Linked DNA regions of Homo sapiens: region 2 is linked to region 1. Evidence: promoter capture Hi-C in 16 types of primary human blood cells and fetal thymus (Javierre and others, 2016). All regions are on one chromosome and are shown on one strand. The core of a region is centred on a gene start or on the middle of the fragment in contact, and the rest is flanking DNA. Distances in the headings are between cores, read along the strand shown. Region 1 holds the start of POGK (pogo transposable element derived with KRAB domain). Region 2 holds the start of SLC19A2 (solute carrier family 19 member 2).

Region 1 (4,869 bases), core at 1,869-4,368:
TTCTCAGCCTGAATGAGGCATCCCCTCATCTTGGCTCCTGGTGCATCCTTGCAGACTTCCACCACTGCACTCTGCACACTGTGCTTACTATTACTTATGTTTACTTTCCTGCCTTGCTCACAAGACTGGAAATTCCATCAGGAAAAGAGTCTCTCTTTACGCCCAGCACTGTGCTTGGTAACTGTGGATGGATGGCTGATTGCCTGGAGGCCACAAATGCCCAATCCCCAGCACCACCAGCTGCTGGACTCCCTCCTCCAGCCCTTCTGGTTACTTCCTTCTTTTCCCACCTAAGCATGGTTGGTCTTCATCTTGCTCCTTCCTCACTGTCCCAACATTCACTTTCATTGCACCTGTTCTCCAAGGCTCTCCATTTAGATGTTCTGGGTTGACCAATCTAGCCTCAAAGCCCTGAGTTTTGACTGCCTTGAGTTCTTGTTCCAGGCTAAATAGACCTGACGCCTGCTTGGATCAGAATTGGGAAGAAGGATGTGGTGGGCAAAGAACACTGATGAGACAAAGGCAGCGCGGTGTCCACAGCTAGACTGGCAAACTGAGAGCCTGTGGTTGCACTGTTTTTTTTTTTTTTAAATTAAGGTATAGCATACATATGGTAAAATGCATTACTTTTAAGGGTGCAGCTCAGGAGACCTGTTTTGAAGAACAAATGTCAGTGTTCATGTGTAACCTTAGGGCAAGGCAGATAATCTTTCTGCATCCCAGTTCTCTCCTCTGGTAGGGAACAATTTAGAAGTACCATGCTTGTATGGATAGGGGCTCTTCATGGAAGCAAAGGATACTATGTATACTGACAATGTTTATACACAACGGAAAATAAGCAGAGAAAAGGAATGTCAATTTGTTGCTTATTTAAAATGTTTACTATTCATGCCTAATTACCACGAAGTCCAGTAACTACGGTGAATAACTATCTGTAACTATAAGTATCTACTGCATTTGCATTTGTATAAACCGACCTCTATCATACTATTCTGCGTGTATACCCTGAATCTCTGTATTCCCTGCTGCCCACCATTTCTATCCAGGTCAGCTGGACAGGCAGCTCTCCTGTGTCAACTGTGGTAAGAGGTGCTCACACAGAACCAACTAGCCTAACCTCTCATGTCAACCCAATGACTCGAGTCTTATTTAAAATGGTTCCCTTCAACCAGCAGTAAGTCAACAAACATTTACTTGGTGCCTACAATGTGCCTGGCATCAAACGCAGTGCAGGATAAGTGGGTGAACGAGAGAGACAAGGTCCTGGCTTCTAGGACTTCCAATTGAACGATGACAAGCTACATGGCTGAGGGACTGTTTCCATAACACCTCCTCCATTCTTTGCACTGCCTTTTAAAGCCACAGAGCTGTTTTCTCAGGAATGCAAACACACCGGGCTGGGCTATTTTTACTTCCCACGTCTGTCTGAGGAGGAGACTTAAAGCAAGCTGGGCTCTCAGGCCTGCATCTGCTGGCTGTGTGGACTCCACACCTTCTTACTTACCCATCCGCCCTCAGAGCAGATTCGTACTTTCTGCATGTCTGCCGGGCCGTCCTCTAGTTCCCGGCTCTGAATCTCTTCTTCCTCTTCCTCTTCTTTCAGGCTCAAATTGAGAGGGTAGGCTGTGGACTCCATCTCTGCAAGCAAGATTCAGGTTCAGAAAAACCAGGTGTCACTGTGACCTCCCCAAAGCCTATGATGGGGGAGGCTGAGCCACATACAAACCTCTTTAGCCCCAAGCACTGTTCCCGCTGGAGGGAAGTAAGGAAACAAGAGTCGGCCAGGAAGCTACAGGGTGACATGTTTAATTATGATAAGAGAGGCTGTGGGTAGATAACGTATCTGGCTGCCTTCAAATATTTAAAAAGCTATCTGGGGAAGAGAACCCAGACTGGTTTGTAGAGACTGGACGGCAGAACAGAGGCCGGCCAGTGGATAAATACTCCTGGAAAAGGTTTTAAGCAGTGAGAAAGGCAGTACTTTCTCACAGCCAGTGCCACCCAAACAGGAATCAGAGGCAGGGGAAAGGTGCTGATTTCCTATCAGTGAAGGTGTCTGAACACAGATTGGACACTTACTCAACTGGAATGGGTGCTAGAAGCCAGTTAAGCATGGGCGGAGCGGTTGGCTCAGTAGGCCCATTGCCTGGATTTTCCAAATTCAAAGGTTCTGTCCACGAGCTGGTTCAGAAAATAGGGTCATTCTACCTTAAGGGACTTTGCAAACGCAGGAGTCAGTGAAACATAGTGAGGGTTATGCCTGGATACCCAAAAAGGTGCAGAAATCGGCTGGGGCCCACCCCGACAGGGAAATAACCCATTGCCTCTGGGCTGCAAATTCTCTATTCGCTGACTCTTGGCCAGTACAAAGGGCCGCACTCCTGCCCTCTATGGGCGCGGGCAATTCCTAGGTGTGGAGTGCGGATGCATCTTGAGGGCTGCATCGGGGAACCTCCAAAGAAAAGATCCCTCTGGAGTTCAAAGTCGGTTCCTTCGATATTTCCAAAAAAGATAGGCGAACGCGGCATGGATGGGTCTAGGCTTCAGATGCCTGCAGCTGGGGCCCGAACTTGGCGGCGGTCTCCCTGCCGGCTCCGGGGCAGAGGTGGGAGGGGCCGCCTCCCCGCGCTAAGGTGCCGCAACCAGGGCCGCCGCCCGCCCTGCCCCGCCTGCGCCACCGCCGCCGCGCCCCCGGGCGCGTTCGGATTTCTCCAGCCATCTTGCCCCATTTCCCTTTCTCCGCGGAACCGCGCCGGGAGCGCTTCCGCTGCCCCCTCCGCCCGGCCCGCCTCCCCACCTGGCCCCCTCCCGGCCCCAGCGCACCTGCCGGGCGGCGAGAGCCGGCGCCGCCCGCCTCCCCGGCGGGCCCGCAACAAAGGCGGCGGCGGCGGCGGCGCAGCCTCGGCGCCCCCGCCTCTGCCGCGGCCCAGCCGCCCGGGACCCGGGGGAGGGGCCGCGCCGCCGCCGCCCCCGCCCGCGCGCACTCACCGCCGGGCCCAGCGGCCAGGGCGCGGGGTGGGGACGCGAGGGCTCCGGCCCGGCTGTCACAGCGCCATCCTTTCCGCCTCTCCGTCCTCCCGTGCGCGCGGCCCCTCGGGAGGGAGCGGGGAGGACACGTGGTGGGAGGAGGGAGGGTCCGGCCCGGAGCTGAGGGTGTTGGGAGGCGAGGGGAGGAGCGCGGCTGATGTCAGCAGGCCTCGGCGGCGCCGGGGGACGGCGCCCGCGCGAGCTCCGGGGCCCTCCTCTAGGCGCGGCTTCCGGCCGGTCCGGGCAGTCCCTGGCGGGCCTGGGTAGCCGTGCCCTCGGCCTTCCCCGCCCCGCCCGATGCAGGCCGCTTCCAGTGCTGCGTGTGACCTCGGCGTGGACGAGGCAGGAAGAGCCCAGATTGATTTTAACCGAGCGTAGCGTGGGCGCACAGTTCCATGTGCTCATTTGCAGTCACCAGCGGGTTGCACTTGCTTGGACGAGCTCTCCAGGCGTTCTCGCCGTGCTTCAGGCAATGAAAGGCTAGACCGGCAAGAGCGTGTAGGGGCATGAGGAGGGGTCTTTGGGGAAGAGTATTCGTATTCTGGCAGCGGGCTCCTGTCCAGAACTTCGTCATATACATGGAGAAGGAACTTCCTGATTTTTGTAGCTGTTGCTTAATATCCCAAGCATGTAATTCCTTGGATGAAGTGGGTGTATAGAAGGACCTTTCTTCTCCAAAACGTCCAAAGGAGTTGTTTACTCTCAGCTCTGTGGGCAATACAACAAAAGTGACCTGAGAAGCCCTGAAGCCCTTTTCATTCCAGAAAAAGATTCTGGGTATGGGTTTTTGTTGAGAACTTGTTGAAGAAAAAATTATTCTGACACTTGTTAAAACAGTAAGGAAGACTTTATACAGGGTTATTGCTATAGGTGTAAAGATGATCACACTGGGGGGAGAGATGAGGTCTAACACGGAATACAGTAAGGACAGCTGGGGATGTATAGCCAAGGAGCAGAACGAAGGGGTCAGTAGATGGAAAGTTACTGATACGAGACATCAAGCACCTAGAGGGATTCTTGCTGAACCCACTTAACAGGATTCTTGCTGAAGGCAGGCTAGGGCGATCAGATATCAAGGGTGGGGGAATGAGAAATTTGATCAGATATCCAGGGTGATCAGATATCAAGGGTGGTGATTTCTCTCTAACCTAACTTAGCAGGGTTCTTGCTAAAATAGAGCTGGGCAGGCCAAAGGTTCGGGGTGAGTGGTCAGGGGACCAGGGTGGAGGCCTGCTGAAGAAGAGGACTTAAGCCTGATTAAACTTTGGTCAAGGAAAGAGTCCGTCAAACTCTTCAGATTGTCTCTGAGACCTGAATATCTGTTGGAAAAGACCTGTCTTTCCAAGTTTTTGTGGCCACTACTACTTACATGTGAATTTTACTTCTCTCAGTCATGGGAGAGGTCACTGTGCACTGTGCTCTTAACACGTAAAATGTAGCATGACATAACGTACACATCTTGGAAGTGCAATCACGGTGACAACCCAAGACCGTAGAAGATCTAATCTGTGGGTGGAAAAGATCGTTCAAATATTGGGAGGGAGGCTAGAATTTACTTTTTTGTTTTAATGAACAATTATTTTTGTGTAAAAGTAAGTATTTGTAGAACAGGAGTGACATGTTAGTTTGAATTGATTGACATTGCCCTCTTAATTTTTCTGAGGAAATGGCAGATTCAAACAGAAAGTGAGGAGGACATTAGGAAGGGAGAAGAGTAATAGGGATGTTGCTGGCACCCCAGCATCTTAGAAAAGAAATTAATACAGTTTTGAGATAGACACACACACACACACACACACAGACACACACACACGAAAAACCCTACTATGTTAGAGTTTTAGT
Region 2 (4,890 bases), core at 726-3,225, 2.6 Mb before region 1:
CTGCAACCTCCGCCTCCTGGGTTCAAGTGGCTCTCCTGCCTCTGCCTCCCAAGTAGCTGGGACTACAGGCGTGCATGCCACTATGCCCGGCTAATTTTTGCATTTTTAGTAGAGACGTGTTTTCGCCATGTTGGCCTGGCTGGTCTGAGACTCCTGACCTCAAGTGATCCGCCCGTCTCGGCCTCCCAAAGTGCTGGGATTACAGGAGTGAGCCACCGTGACCAGCCAGAAAGCTATTTTTAATAAGTAGGCTTCTCTTTCCGAGGCCTCTCTGGCTTGCTTTCTCTTTCTTTCTTCTCTTCTACTAAAGCACTGAATGTAAATACAAAGCGATTGTCAAGAAGACCACCTGTTTTCTCTCTGTAGTCCTGATAAGAAGGGTTGGAGTTTAGGGGACTAGACAATTGAATAATATCGATTAGCAGTCCTCAAACATTTTGGTCTTAGGACCCTTGTTAGAGGTGCCCCAAAAATCTGTTGGGTTTTGTGGGTTATACTTATTGAAAATTGCCATATGGTAATAAATTAAACCTGGAAAGTCTTACAAACACAAGAATATACAAGCACGTATTCTCTCATCCTATAAAGCGATGATGTCATCAGACATTATATAGCCTCTGGAGTGGAAAAGGAAATAAAGACTTAGCATGGTTATGAAAATAGATTTGAGCTCGTGGAACCTCTGAAAGGGTCCCAAGGACCCCCAGGGCTTCCTCGACCACACTTTGAGACTCATTGAGATATGTAAATACTGCCAGTTGTATTTCTTCACAGATTAATCAACTCACAGATTTGGGTGCATTCATTTGTGCAGTCTTAGAAACAAATCTTTCCCTTTACCAGTATCTTATTCCATCTGGTAGACTCATTTCTGCTGCTGATGCTTGAAAAAAGTGTCATTTGCTACCACAGGAGGAAAACGGTGCTAGATGGATCATAACATACAGAAAAGCAAGATAGTTCCAAAATGTTTCCAAGAGCTTCTGGCAGGATCTGTCATTCTACAAATACTGCACAGGAAAAATTGCTTTAAATGCTGCATCTTTGCAGTAGAAAGATTAGGATTGAGCCAGGCTGTGAGTCAGGCAGAAAAAGGCACACAGAGGGGGATGAAAGAAAGCACTGGAGAGTCTTGTCATGCTTTGCCCTTGAAAACTATGCCAAGACCTCTTTTGTGTTTTTAAATGAAGAAATCCATCATGTTTTGTGATTGCTGTAATGACTCAGGATCTTCCACCTTCCTTTTAACTATAAACCGTAGCGTAGTTAGGTGTTTGTTTTCTTTGTATCATGCTTGCAAAAAGTGACGAAATAAAGTTAAAACCCTTTAACTGGGACTCCATTACGGTTCTGCTGTTCAGTGACCAGCTTGTTCATTATTCTCACAATATTATCTACTTTCTTCATTTCAGTCTGTCTCTTAGATCCTGGGCTTCTGATGTCTTTCCATGGCGGATGAATACAATTTAAAACACGAAAGCTGCTGGAGGAAAGGTTTAACGTTCCCCCTCCCCAAGGTGAAATCTTTGCCTGGCCTCAGTCACTAAGTCTCTCAGGAGCGGAAACTGAATGGACATTCCGGAGACGGTGAATAAGAATGATAAACGGTGGTTGGGGAGAACAGCGCGTTTCTTCCAGCGGAGGACTAGGCCCACAGGACGCATTCCCAACAGATGAGCGGAGCCGACAGCAAGTGTGCCACGAACGCCAGCTGGCCGCCTCACTAGAGAGAGCTCCGCCGCAAGCCGCCGCTTTTGGAGTGGAGTTCCACATGTCCTCCGCGCTTGAGCCCTGGGACGTCAGAGGCCTGGCGTGCTGCCACCGCCCCAGTTCACGTCGTGTGACCCACGACCAATGGAAGAGCAGGCAAGTATTCCCGGCGTCCGCTGTGATTGGTTCCCGGAGTGGAGGCGGTGGCAGAGGGTGGGCCTTAGGACGGGTCTCCCTTAAACTGGGCGATCAGGCAGCGACCCTAGAGGCGTCTGTAGGGTAAAGCTGGGGGTTCTGTAGCCGGAGGCGGCGGCGAGTCCAGAACGTCCTGGCCTTACAGGGAGAAGGCGTCACTCGCGGTTACAAGTGCCTGACCCTCACTCCAGTTGGCGGAGGAGGAGAAGGAAGGGGCCGGGCCGGGTCCCCTCCCCTCGCGCCCCGGATGGATGTGCCCGGCCCGGTGTCTCGGCGGGCGGCGGCGGCGGCGGCCACTGTGCTCCTGCGGACCGCTCGGGTCCGTCGCGAATGCTGGTTCTTGCCGACCGCGCTGCTCTGCGCCTACGGCTTCTTCGCCAGCCTCAGGCCGTCCGAGCCCTTCCTGACCCCGTACCTGCTGGGGCCGGACAAGAACCTGACCGAGAGGGAGGTACGCGCGGCGGACGCGGGGCGCGGGAAGGGCGGGCGACCGGCCTGCGGGTGGGCAGCGGAGGAAGAGAGGACCGAGAAAAGCGCTCGAGCCATTCTCGGCAGAGATTTCTGATTTTGCCAGTTGGAGGTCGGCTTCGTGCTCTTCTTTGTGTTCATGATTTTCTGTTTTCTTCGGCTCTGTAGGACGAGTCTCCTGCGAAGGGCTCAGAACACGCGTCCAGAGGCCCCGTGCCTTGTGCGTCAGGCAGTATGCTGATCGTGTTGTAATGTGGCTTAGCGTGACTGCCCAGACTGGTCCAGCAGTTCCTGCTGGGGGCGAGGGGGCAATATTTTGACAAAGAAGTGAAAACAGCAAAGTGTACTTTGGACACGGCTTAGTAAATATTCATTGACTGAAAGTAGGCAACCACTGCTTTTCTGAAAGGATCTTCCCTCTACCTCCTTCACCTGCTTCCTGTCCATACCTTACTTTGTTTGCATTTGGCAGAATGGGTGGGCTTAATCAAGTAAGGACAGGACAGAAGTACAGAACATCTTAATTTGTCTTGATTTTTAATTGGGTGAGGTTGTGTCCAAGGATATCCTGCCCCTCTCTACCTTAAGACCAACCTCCAGGGATAAAGGCAGATGGTGAAACATAATTGACTTTTAATTATAGTGTTTCTTGTATTGCGAATTGTTGCTTCACAGATGTTAGTTTTGCTTCTCAGATACAAGGTGATGTCTTTGAAGGCCTTCTGTGATGTTCAGGGTAATTGAGAGCACGTAGTCCATCATCAAGAGTTTCTTGCTGATTGATTTTTTCCCTAGATGAGGGCTTACAAATAAAGTACTTCAGAAGCGCATAGTGTACTTTAGAAATGTGCTGACCTATTTAAGTGCATGGTCAAAACCAGCACTTGATTTTTGCAGAAGAAAGACAATATATAAACTGAGAAAGAAATTAAACCCAAAGTACTTCCACAAAACCGAAATAAAGCCGATTCAACACCCTCTTCCTTGAATACAACAAAGGGTGAAAGCTGAGGTCTCATGTTCTTTTTCCTACTATCAGTCAAGGGGCCACTTGAGAGCTTTTTCTTTTTTCCTACACCTGTTCCTTCCACCCTGCCTCCTTGCCCCAGGTGCTGTAAAATACTCCTCCCATTTAAACCTTACTCTTCTCTATGTGGGTAGTAGTCAGTCACTTCTTTTGAGTAGCCACTCAGTAACCCTGCATAACAGGTCAGAACAAGAGATGGCACTACCGGAATCATTTGCACACTGGCGAGATATAGTTACTCATAGTTTGTTGTTTGCAGTTTGTTTGTTGCAATGCTCCGTCATTTTCAAGGGCACTTGAGAGAGAATTAAGAATCAGTATTGACTTACGTATTGAGGGTTTCACTTGAGAGTCTGACATTTGTTCACTTCTAGCAAGTATCACTGACTTTTTGCCTGGCCTTAAATTACCCTATTGACCTGCCAGTTGTGGGATGGAGTGGCTGGGCCGTTTCTCAGTCTTGTGGATCATTACATAAGCGACCGTAACAGTTATTCATAACCTATTTGAGTTTTAATACTGATTTAAAGCAATAATGTCAAAACAGCCAAATTTCATGACAGAATGATTTTACAAGAAAATTACTGCACTGATATGAGAAAGTATGATTCTGGAGACCCAAAACAACCACTGAATCTGAGGTGTAGCCACTGAGGCAGAATTGATACTGCTGTGAACAGCTGACCATTAAAGTTTCATGTGAACTGCCATGTGATCTGCACAGTTTGTGCGCCTTTCCGGATAGTGAAACACAGGGAGAGAAACATGTTCCCAGTGTTGATATTTGAAAGCTGATCTGTTTTGTCATGTGCTCTGGGTAGAAGGTTGCTGTGTGACGTGCTACCAAGATCATGTGCTCTGTCCTATCAGAAAGCTTTTCAAGGTGAGTGAAGTGTGTTCAGGGGGCACAGAAATAAAGCAGAGTTGCCAGGCGTAGTAACTATTTGCTGATTGTGTAACAAAAAACATAAGTGTACTTCTCTTATTGCAAATTAGTTGAGGAAAAGCGTGGGATTTGAAGAGAAATCTAGTAGTCTGGGGAAGGGGTGTCTTCTCAGAGGACCACCAAATCATGGCTGATTCTCCTCTGCTTACCTTGTGGCAAACCCTACGTTTTTTTGTATAACTAATAATTGAAATAAATAGAACAACTTATTCATTACTTACTGAATGCTTGTTTTTTGCCATGGACAGTTAAATAAAAAAAATTACATGATTTTTAAGCAAAGCTAATGCTAAGTCATATTCAGCGACATTTGTATTAAAGTTTGTATTTGCTCTTAGAAGACTGCAGAAGGGCCAAGTTGGTTTGAATAGAGCTATTGTTAACTAAATCCTAAAACAAAAGGAGAGGAGAAAAAGATTTCTTCTGTCTACTCTCAAAAGTTTTTTTCTTAGATTTCAGGAAAAGCATTAATTTTAAAACAGATACCAGTGTGTAAGTTTTAAGCAGGCTAAAATTTGACTGTATGTTAATAGTTGAAGGCCAG

Evidence for each region. The method cuts DNA at HindIII sites, captures the fragments that hold promoters and counts their contacts. A CHiCAGO score of 5 or more calls a contact.
Region 2: the fragment with the promoter of SLC19A2 here is called in contact with the fragment with the promoter of POGK in region 1 in 1 of 17 cell types (non-activated CD4 T cells); the score reaches 9.5 in non-activated CD4 T cells.

The regions. Positions count from the first base shown.
Region 1 is chr1:166,837,724-166,842,592 of GRCh38, reverse strand. POGK (pogo transposable element derived with KRAB domain) reads right to left here and starts at 3,118. Exons shown (of 6, transcript NM_017542.5): 1 at 2,989-3,118; 2 at 1,505-1,638. The coding sequence starts at 1,636. RefSeq lists silencers at 2,593-2,832, 2,933-3,362. The HindIII fragment of the contact is 10,121 bases long and covers 1-4,869 here.
Region 2 is chr1:169,483,029-169,487,918 of GRCh38, reverse strand. It overlaps SLC19A2 (solute carrier family 19 member 2), which reads left to right and starts at 1,975. Exons shown (of 6, transcript NM_006996.3): 1 at 1,975-2,356. The coding sequence starts at 2,153. RefSeq lists enhancers at 1,541-1,610, 918-1,838, 1,621-1,870, 1,674-1,968, 2,511-2,570 and a silencer at 2,151-2,330. The HindIII fragment of the contact is 10,248 bases long and covers 1-4,276 here.